Regions from separate parts of the Homo sapiens genome. Here region 2 is linked to region 1. Evidence: promoter capture Hi-C in human tissues and cell types (Jung and others, 2019). All regions are on one chromosome and are shown on one strand. Each heading gives the region's core, a stretch centred on a gene start or on the middle of the fragment in contact. The rest is flanking DNA. Distances are from core to core; before and after follow the strand shown.

Region 1 (5,504 bases), core at 1,735-4,234:
GTTCAAGACCAGCCTGGCCAACATGGTGAAATGCCGTCTCTACTAAAAGTACAAAAATTAACCATACGTGGTGGCCACGCCTATAATCCCAGCTACTTGGGAGGCTGAGGCAGGACAATTGCTTGAACCCAGGAGGCGGAGGTTGCAGTGAACTGAGGGCGCCACTGCATTCCATCCTGGGCGACAAATCGAGACTCCGTCTGTAAATAAATAAATAAATAGGTCCCGCAGTGAAAACTGGCTGCTATTTTGCCCACAAACCTCTTCCAATTTTTCTTGTTGATGTGCCACTCCAGCATGGCACCTTGAAACAGAGCTAGCCAGAAAACACCGGGGACATCAGAGCATTCTGCAGCTGTGAGCAGAAATGTACGTGGAGATGCACATGGACATATGGCAGAGCTAACCTGGACTTGGTTTTCTTTCCTGAAGGAGAGCAGAATGACTGAATATCCCTAAACTTCTCTTTGGCAGACAGTCAATGGGGATTTTTCCACTAAAGTGGGAACTCACAAAGACTCCATATGTTTGAAAGAGCCGCAGACCTTGAATTCCATTTTGTCAATAAATTTTGGTTATGGTTTCAAGTAGCTAAAATATTCCTTTCACCAACCTGGCCTTTCACCTGTATTAGCACATCCTCTGAACAGTTCTGTCTGCACAGCAGGTAATACTATCATCATTCTATAGATGAGGAACTAGGGTTCAGAGTGGGTAACTTGCCAAATGTCAGAGTTAGATGGTTAGTGCTGGACCCTGGATTTTTTTTTTTTGACAGAGTCTTGCTCTGTTGCCCCGGCTGGAGTGCAGTGGCACGATCTCGGCTCACTGCAACCTCCACCTCCTGGGTTCAAGTGATTCTTCTGCCTCAGCCTCCTGAGTAGCTGGGATTACAGGCAAACGCCTGGCTGATTTTTTTTTAGACAGAGTCTTGCTCTGTTGCCCAAGCTGGAGTGCAGTGGCATGATCTTGGCTCACCACAACCTCTGCCTCCCGATTCAAGCAATTCTCCTGCCTCAGCCTCCCGAGTAGCTGGGACTATAGGTGCGCATCACCGTGCCTGGCTAATTTTTGTATTTTTAGTAGAGATGGGGTTTCACTATGTTGGCCAGGCTGGTCTTGAACTCCTGACCTCGTGATCTGCCCTCCTTGGCCTCCCATAGTGCTGGGATTACAGGCATGAGCCACCACACCCAGCCTGGAGCTTGGATTTTAACCCAAGTATGTTTGATCTCTTCCCACTAAGCTACCATAGCTCTATACTCCAGGAGCTCCTGTTTCTAACCTGAGCTGTTTTCTCTATTTTCTAGGACACAGCGACAGTTTCAGAGACTGGAGTTCTTTGAAACAGACATAAGAGAGCAAGCCACCTCTCTATTTTCAGGAAAGACACAGAGAACCTATGGTTATGAACTAAAACAAAGATAATGTAGATTCTGAATATGTCTAGAGACATTGTTCATTTATAGTCAGGAATAGCTTTACCCTTGACAGAGAACTCTGTGCCAGCTGCTGGGTGCTGAGCACTTTTATTTACATTATGTCATGTATTCCCCACCACAACTACTACATACATCTCTCTTTTTTTTTTTTTTTTCTTGAGACGGAGTCTGGCTCTGTCACCCAGGCTGGAGTGCAGTGGCACTATCTCGGCTCACTGCAACCTCCGCCTCCCAGATTCAAGCAATTTTCCTGCCTCAGCCTCCTGAGTAGCAGGGATTACAGGCGCCCACCACCACGCCTAGCTAATTTTTGTGTTTTTAGTTGGGGGGGGGGGCGGGGGCGTTCACCATGTAGGCCAGGCTGGTCTCGAACTCCTGACCTCGTGATCCGCCCGCCTCGGCCTCCCAAAGTGCTGGACTTATAGGCGTGAGCCACCGCGCCCAGCCTATGATAGAAATCTTATTAGCTCCATGGTTACAAACAGACAACCCTGAGGCCTGGAGGAAAGTAACTTCAGAACAGATACTCTCCTGGCTGAACTTTATATTTATTGCACTCTTGGCAGTCGTCCCTAGTTGTCTTTTTCTTTGATCTCTCTCTAGTTAAGACTTGCTCCTGGAGGCAAAGCGTGGTGGTGTCTGGCTCAGCATAGCACCTGCCATAATTACAAATGGCAATTATGGAATGAATCAGCTGTTTAAAGCACCAAATCTTGAGCTGGCCCGAAGACTGCGCAGGAGGATTGCATGCTCAACTCTCCCCTTTAGAAACTGTTAACAATCGTTGTGGCCGGGCGCGGTGGCTCACGCCTGTAATCCCAGCACTTTGGGAGGCCGAGGCGGGTGGATCATGAGGTCAGGAGATCGAGACCATCCTGGCTAACAAGGTGAAACCCCGTCTCTACTAAAAATACAAAAAAAATTAGCCGGGCGCGGTGGCGGGCGCCTGTAGTCCCAGCTACTCGGGAGGCTGAGGCAGGAGAATGGCGTGAACCCGGGAAGCGGAGCTTGCAGTGAGCCGAGATTGCGCCACTGCAGTCCGCAGTCCCGCCTGGGCGACAGAGCGAGACTCCGTCTCAAAAAAAAAAAAAAAAAACAATCGTTGTAACTGGAAATGTAACTGTTATACCCTCCCCCCCTTTTATTTATTTATTTTTTTGAGAGGGAGTTTTTGCGCTGTTGCCCAAGCTGGAGTGTGGTGGCGCCCAGCCCTGTTAGCCCCTTACAGAGTAGATCAGCTGCCGCAGGCATCTGAGTTCCCCAAACGGACGCCCGAACCCGGCATTGCGCAAATCGTTTCCAAGTAGCCCCGGCTTATTTATCCCGTCCGGGAGGGAGGGACCCAGGGAAGGCCCACCCCACTTGGTTCCCGAGAAATGCAGAGCCTGGCGTCCACTCCCGGTCTGGGGGACCCCTCCACCGCCAGCCCAGGAAGTCAGCGCCGGGCCCTCGGGGCGGAGCAGGGAAGAGGGAGCGGTTGGCCCGGACGCTCTTCCGGGTCCTGGGAGGAGGGCCCGGACCTAAGCCCCGCCCCTCCGGGGTGGAGTCACGGCTCGCGACTGGCCTAAGTCGCCGCAGGTATTGCAGTCCGGGGCTGGAGGGTAGGGGCGAGGGTCCCCGGATACCGGGTCTATCACGGTCTCGGGCAGGGAGTCTGAATCTTTTAGGGGAGTGGGCCCAAGCCGGGTGCAAAGAACGGGGAAGGGCCTTCCCTGGCTCCGTCCCGGCCACTTTGACCGAATCAGCCTGTTCTTTCCCGACCCCGTCTCCTATCCCCTAGAACTGCCACGTGGGGATGAGATTTGCTGGGCTGGTAGCGGCGGCTGCTGCGGGAGGTCCCGCCCACGTGAAGCCAGCCTAACTGAGCTCTGGACTTTGGGGACAGCTGTCAGTGGCCTAGGCCGCAGGTGAGATTTATCCATTCATCTCTCAATCTATTTTCTTTCTTCATTCACTAGCCACTCCCCCACTTCTACTCCATGCCAGGTCCATTGGTAGGTTCTCGGAATGGATCTGACAGGCCCAGCCCTCTAGGAACTTAGTCTAGTGGAATTTAATCTAGAATCTAGTCTAGAAGCCTTAAATAGATAAACATTCCAAATGATTCCTGCAATGGTGATGGCTAATACCTTCAGAGCCCAGTGGGTGGAAGAAGGAAGTAACTTGGATGTGGGTGGAAGAGAAAAGGGCAAATCAGGGAAGGTTTCACCAGGGAAGGGACTTTTGAACTGGGCTTTGAAGGTTAACTAGGAGTTTGCAAATTTCCCAGAAGGGAAGCGACATTCCAAATAGGGGAAGCAGAACAGGCTGCAAAATTATGAAAAGGCCTGCCATATTACAAGAACAGCAAAAAAACCAATAATGCAAGAGATTGTGGAGGTGAGTTCACGGGAAAAAAGCTCAACAGCAGAAGGCCTTACTTTCTATGCTATGTTGAGGCCAAGATTTATCCCAGAGCTCAGTATTTCTCAGCTTCTTTAAATATTTTGTCCTTTGAGCGGAGAGCAGTGGCTCACACCTGTAATCCCAGCTTTTTAGGAGGCTGAGGTGGAAGAATTGCCTGAGGCTAGGAGTTCGAGACCAGCCTGGACAACAAAGCGAAACCTCCATTTCTATTTTTTTTTCTTTTTTTGAGGAGGAGTCTTGCTCTGTCGCCAGGCTGGAGTGCAAGTGGCGCAATTTCGGCTCACTGCAACCTCCGCCTCTTGGGTTCAAGCAATTCTCACGCCTCAGCCTCCTGAGTAGCTGGGACTACAGGCGTGGGCCACAACGCCCAGCTAATTTTTTTTGTATTTTTAGTAAAGACAGGGTTTCACCATGTTGGCCAGGATGGTATCGATCTGACCTCATGATCCGCCTGCCTCGGCCTCCCAAAGTGCTGGGATTACAGGCGTGAGCCACTGCTCCCAGCCCCGTTTCTATTTTTAATTAAAAAATAAATAAATGGCCGGGCTCAGTGGCTCACGCCTGTAATCCCAGCACTTTGGGAGGCCGAGGCGAGCCAAGTTCAAGACCAGCCTGGCGAACATAGTGAAACCCCATCCCTACGAAAAATACAAAAAAAATTAGCCAGGTGTGGTGGCACTTGCCTGTAGTCCCAGCTTACTCTGGAGGCTGAGGCAGGAGAATAGCTTGAACCCGGGAGGCAGAGGTTGCAGTGAGCTGAGATCCTGCCACTGCACTCCAGCCTGGGTGACAGAGTGAGACTCCATCTCAGAAAAAATAAAAATAAAAAATAAAGCCAGGCACGGTGGCTCATGCCTGTAATCCCAGCACTTTGGGAGGCTGAGGCGGGCAAATCACCTGAGGTCAGGAGTTAGTGACCAGCCTGGCCAGTGTGGTAAAACCCCGTCTCTACTAGAAAAGCTAGAAAAATGAGCTGGGCGTGGGTGGGCACCTGTAATCTCAGCTACTCAGGAGGCTGAGAAAGGAGAATCATTTAAACCTGGGAGGGGAAGGTTGCAGTGAGTGGAGATTGCACCACTGCACTCCAACCTGTGCAACAGAGTGAGACTCTATCTAAAAATAATAATAAAGATAAATACATAGGCCAGGCACGGTGGCTCACACCTGTAATCCCAGCACTTTGGGAGGCTGAGGCGGGTGGATCAGCTGAGGTCAGGAGTTCGAGACCAGCCTGACCAACATGGTGAAACTCCATCTCTACTAAAAATAGAAAAATTAGCTGGGCGTAGTGGCACATGCCTGTAATCCAAGCTACTCGGGAGGCTGAGGGAGGAGAATCGTTTGAACCTGGGAGGCAGAGGTTGCCATGAGCTGAGATCTTGCCATTGCACTCCAGCCTGGGCAACGAGAGCTAAACTCCATCTCAAATAAATAAATAAATAAATAAATAATAAAAATAAAGATGAAAAGTTGGTGATTCTTATTCAAATCAATCAGGCCTAGAAATTAGTACATTCAACAGGAAAGGTTTAAAAAGGAGGTTGAATTGATTAAGATGATAATCATAAGTGTCTAAAAAGTGCCTTTCTTTCTTATGCATAGGACACCATGAAGCAACTGCCAGTCTTGGAACCTGGAGACAAGCCCAGGAAAGCA
Region 2 (5,504 bases), core at 2,048-4,547, 500 kb after region 1:
TACTAAACTACAAAAATTAGCCAGGTGTGGTGGTGCACACCCGTAATCTCAGCTACTTGGGAGGCTGAGGCAGGAGAACTGCTTGAACTCAGGAGGCAGAGGTTTCAGTAAGCCAAGATGGTGCCATCGCACTCCAGCCTGGGAAACAGAGCAAGACTCCATTTCCAAAAAAAAAAAAGTTTTAAGAAAATTACGGCTATAAAACAAATGCAGTTCTTCATAACTGTAGGGAAAAAGGACTTAAGCACACATGCATTTACTACAATTTGAATGCCAATACCAATACGATCAAAAGAAGCTAAACTACTACCTCAGTGGGAATGGTGCTCTTAACATTGTTCTGAAACTCCTAATTTCCTTAACTAAAAAAAGGCAGAAAAGTATGCATAATGCAAATTACAAACACTACAGAGAAAATGTATGGAAATCGTTTTCCCCGCCCCCTCTCCCAAAAGAATGTTAGACACACTTTATAGAAACCGTGCTTACTCCAAATAGCTCACCAAGTGAAGGTTACTGTGAAATACTTCAAATTCCATAAGCCCCTCAGTACTGCAAAGACTGTGGGAAGGGAATGTTCCAAGCACAGACTAATGGACAGAAGGTACAAATGAAATAAGCCCTGATGCATGACTATCTAAGGAAGTCTAAACTGAAGACTCAATATATTTGTTCTGAAGTTATTAACCAAGCTTCAGTTTCTTAAATACATTCAAAACATTTAGCATATTCTTATAAGTCCCAAGTATAAATGACAGAGGTCTGTCATTGAAGATAATTAAAATAATTTATTTTGCCTAGTTTAGGATAGATAAATCTCTGTCATAGTTCAGACTTAAGTTTTTGTATTTTGAATTTTTTATACCAACAATGTGAATTCTTATTGTGTTTGTTGACTGTGTTAACAATAATACAAGTTATACCAACTTGGAATTTTTATTTTAATTTTGGGGATGTGTCCGTATTTTAACTCAGCAACTTTAATCCAGTGATCAAAGCTTCATTCGCTTGTAAACTGTTTCTCAGGTAAACTGAATTGCCCCATACCAGCATCTTAAGCAAATAAATAAGTACAAAACAGGCAGAGATTATAAATTAGAGCAGACAAATCTGTATCTCACCCCACGCCGGTAAAGAGCATTCTATCAATATAGTGAAATGCTAATCTCCTAATTAACAACCTAATTAGGTAATTATGGCTTTGCAGAGGGATGCCGAAATGAAATATGACAACATGGTCACCTCTTTATATGGCACCTGTGGGCCTTTTCAGCTGTCATTGCAAAGAGTGCAATATCAATTTGAACAGATGACAAAGTGCTGTCATTTTTCATTCTGATAATATACAGAATGCTTTGGACAGAAGTAGTTTACAAAAGAAACATCTTGCCTGATATTTTCCTAATTTAAATATGCTCAAATACTTCGGTAAATTTTTTGCATTGTACATAAGAGAATCAGTATGCACATTTTTATATTGTACATAAGAGAATCAGTATGCGCATTTGAAAAAAACAAACCTAACTGGCCATCATGCTTAACTGTACAAGCTGAAACTATTTCTTTTCTTTCTTTTTTTTTTTGAGACGGAGTTTCACCATTGTTGCCCAGCCTGGAATGCAATGGCGCAATCTTGGCTCACTGCAACCTCCACCTCCCGGGTTCAATTGCTTCTCCTGCCTCAGCCACCCGAGTAGCTGGGATTATAGGCATGTGCCATCACACCCGGCTAATTTTGTATTTTTAGTAGAGACGGGGTTTCTACATGTTGGTCAGGCTGGTCTTGAACTCCCAACCTCAGGTGATCCACCTGCCTCAGCCTCCCAAAGTGTTGGGATTACTGTGCCCAGCCTGAAACTATTTCAATTATAAAGTATATGATAATTAGAAAAGAGTAAAAGGCAACAATTCATCATATTTTAACACTCATATTTTTACTAACTACTGCTATCAGAAAAACTGAAATCCAAACAAACGTGATCTTCAATCTTCTTCTCACAAAATAAAATAAGTGAGACAGACATTCACATTTGTTAAAATAAATTAAAACAGACCAGGCCTGGCCAGATGCAGTGGTTCATGCTTACAATCCCAACAATTTGGGAGGCCGTGGTAGTGCATGCCTGTAGTCCCAGCTGCTGGGGAGGAAGAGGTGGGAGGATCGCTTGAGTCCAGGAAGTTGAGGCTGCAGTGAGCCGTGATCGTGCCACTGCACTCCAGCCTGGTCAATAGAGCAAGAACCCTGTCTCGAAAAAAAAACAAAAAAAAAACAAAAAACAAACAAACAAAAAAACAAATAAAACAACAACAACAACAAAACAAAAAAATCAGACCTGGTCTGAAAAATTCAAGCAGACAAAACTAGTTAGGCCTTATAAATGACCTTAACCTTGTTTGATTTGCAAACATAGGCAAAACTTGAGATATGTCTTATAAATGCATATATGAAAAAAAAAACAAAAAACCTTAAGCTTATCTAGTCAGAAGCAGCCAACAAACTTATGTAACTGAGGACTTTCCAATGGTAGTGATCAACTGTATAACTAATCAATCAAATCTTTTGTTTTACTTCCACAGTCTTCCTACAAAAGCTTCCCCCGCTTACTTTCCCTCAATGGAGCCCCAGAATCACTTCTGATTTGAAGCTGCCCAATTCATGAATCGCTGTTTGTGCAAATAAACTCTAAAATCTTATGCCTCAGTTTACCTTAACACACATAATTTTCCATACCAAAAAATCACTTCCCAAATACGTAAGCATTCAACTCACTATCTCTATCTACCAAAGGCCAACCTCAACTCCACAGAGATAGGAGTGGACTCCCTCTGAAAGTAAAGACGGAGCTGTCACAGGCCTACTCGTTGTCCCTGTGGCCACTGAAGAGGTGATGGTAGCACCGGGATAATGATACCACCAATACGAATACAACTCTTCTTCCAGAATACTGTCTTAAATAGGACTTTTGGGGGAAAAGAAGGCTTTCCTGGGAATAGTAACATCATTTATGTCAGGACATATGAAACCATGTTCTAAGTGCAAAATAAAAGAGGTGAAAACTAACTTGAAAATACAATCCATTTACAACTTCACAATCACCTGCATTAGTGAAAACTATTGGTTAAAATGATGGTCACTGACTCTACTCATATTTGTTAATATCAATTTTAAACTATGATTTATTTTTAAATAATTTGTTTATCAAAGAACATTTCTAAAACTGAGAAAAATATCAAGTCTTATAATCTCACCACCTATTTCTTTTCTTTGCATACATGTTTGACATAATTGGGACCATACTTTATAGAGTGTCATATCCTTTTTTCACTTATTATATGGTTAGCATATTAGTATGTCACTAAAATTCTTCTGAAACATCTAAGATGACTGTATATTATTTCCATTCTATGAATTTTCCATGATTTCTCTAATTTTTATTGAACATTAAGGTTCTAATTTTTGCTAAATACTGCTGCAGTGAACATCTTTGAACACGAATATCTTTCGACATCTCTGATTTCTTTAATAAAGATTCCTAGAAATGGAATTACAAGCTCAAAAGGCATGCATAACTTTTTTTAAAAGCTTGTTAATAAATACTGCCAAAGTGCTTTCCAGAAAAGTTTTACTCATTTACATTCCCACTATCAATATGAGTAACCATCTTACCATCTTACCACCAATCTTTATTATCAATGAGTATTAGTATTTTCATCAAATCCTTAAGCTTCATATCATAACACTATACCTATAATCAAACACTCTCACAATATAATCAATAATAACTTTCTGTAAACATTAAGTTTAAATGAAGGCAAAGGGCCATAATTAATGACAGTCCCAAGACAGGGCCAGTCCCAATATCCAAATCCAGAGCAGCATGGAAAAGTGACCCCCAACTCCAAAAAAAAAGTAATAGTGCTTTTCAGTACTCTGAGTCAAAACAAAGGTCAAGTCCTAGTTTTGCTACTCACGCATGCGCGTTCTCGCTCTCTCTATACGTATATACAAAAAGTATATATATATACACACACATATGTGTATATATATGTGTGTGTATATATATATTCCATCTCAAAATATATAAATATATAATTTATAAATATATATAATACATAATATATATAAATATATATATATATATATATATATATATATATATATATATATATATATAAAATATATATATTTTTTGAGATGGAGTTTCACTCTTGTCACCCAGGCTGGAGTGCAATGGCGCAATCTTGGCTCATGGCAACCTCCGACTCCCGGGTTCAAGCAATTCTCCTGCCTCAGCCTCCCGAGTAACTGGGACTATAGGCGTGTGTGTGCCACCACGCCTGGCAAATTTTTGTATTTTTAGTAGAGACAGGGTTTCGCCATGTTGGCCAGGCTGGTCTCGAACTCCTGACCTCAGGTGATCCACCTGCCTCAGCCTCCCAGAGTGTTGGGATTACAGGCATGAGCCACCGCACCCGGCCCGGTAGCTCTATATTTTTATTAATAATTACATTACTTCTCTAAGCTTCAGTTTCGGCATTTGTAAAATGGGGACGGGGATAACATAATATCCCTTTTCTAACAAAGAGCAGTTACAGGCACAAAAAAGATAATATAAACACTTGGAAGTGTTTCTTGTTACTCAGCAGATCAATTCACATAATAGCTTAAAAACAGCATCCTAAAGTCCTTCTCTCAATACAGTATGTAGGTGCACTAATTTACAAAACACAACAGAAATTAACAAATTTCATGATCCAGACATGAAAATGAGTCTCACTCTTTTATGACCACTCCATCAAATCATTGCTTATTACATCATATTAACATCCTGAATGTCTTATGCCCTGAATGCCATTAGAGGTTGGCATCCCTTATCTAAAATGCTTGGGACCAGAAGTGTTTCAGACTCTGGATTTTCTTTGAATTTTGGAATATTTTCATATATATCATGCAGTATCCTGGGGATAAGACACAAGTCTAAACACGCAATTCACTTATATTTCATATACACTTTACACACATAGCCTGAAGGTAATTTTATACTAACTTTTTTTTTCTTTTTTGAGGCAGGGTCTCCCTCTGTCATCCAGGCTGGAGTGCAGGAGCACAATCATGGCTCACTGCAGCCTTGACACCCCGGGCTCAAACGATCCTCCTGCCTCGGCCTCCCAAGTAGCTGGGACTACAGGCACACACCACCACACCAAGCTAATTGTTTTGATTTTTAGTAGAGACAAGGTCTTGCTGTGTTGCCCAGGCTAGTCTCTAACTCCTGAACTCAAGCAATCCTCCCACCTTGGCCTCCCAGGATTGCTGGTTATGAGCCACCTCACCCAGCCAGTATTTTTAATAATTTTATGCATGAAATAAAGTTTTAACTGCAACCTGTCACATGAGGTCAGGCATAGAATTTTCCAATTGTGGCATCATGTCAGTTCGAAAAGTTTTGAATTTTGAAGGATTTTTGATTTTGATTTTTTTTTTTTTTTGAGACAGTCTTGCT

The links. The method cuts DNA at HindIII sites, captures the fragments that hold promoters and counts their contacts. A contact is called where the count stands out against the background at its distance.
Region 2: a fragment that was not itself captured here is called in contact with the fragment with the promoter of RABEPK in region 1 in 2 of the 25 tissues and cell types used here (dorsolateral prefrontal cortex and hippocampus).

Annotation. Positions count from the first base shown.
Region 1 is chr9:125,197,558-125,203,061 of GRCh38, forward strand. RABEPK (Rab9 effector protein with kelch motifs) reads left to right here and starts at 2,985. Exons shown (of 8, transcript NM_005833.4): 1 at 2,985-3,349; 2 at 5,451-5,504. The coding sequence starts at 5,457. It overlaps LOC105376271 (a long non-coding RNA gene), which reads right to left and starts at 2,839. Exons shown (of 2, transcript NR_135145.1): 1 at 2,669-2,839; 2 at 1,976-2,098. RefSeq lists a silencer at 2,863-2,912. The HindIII fragment of the contact is 10,811 bases long and covers 1-5,504 here.
Region 2 is chr9:125,694,163-125,699,666 of GRCh38, forward strand. All of the region lies in intron 1 of MAPKAP1 (MAPK associated protein 1), which reads right to left. Among named protein-coding and RNA genes, the nearest start is that of MAPKAP1, 10 kb to the right of the region's middle. RefSeq lists an enhancer at 1,942-2,681. The HindIII fragment of the contact is 4,904 bases long and covers 846-5,504 here.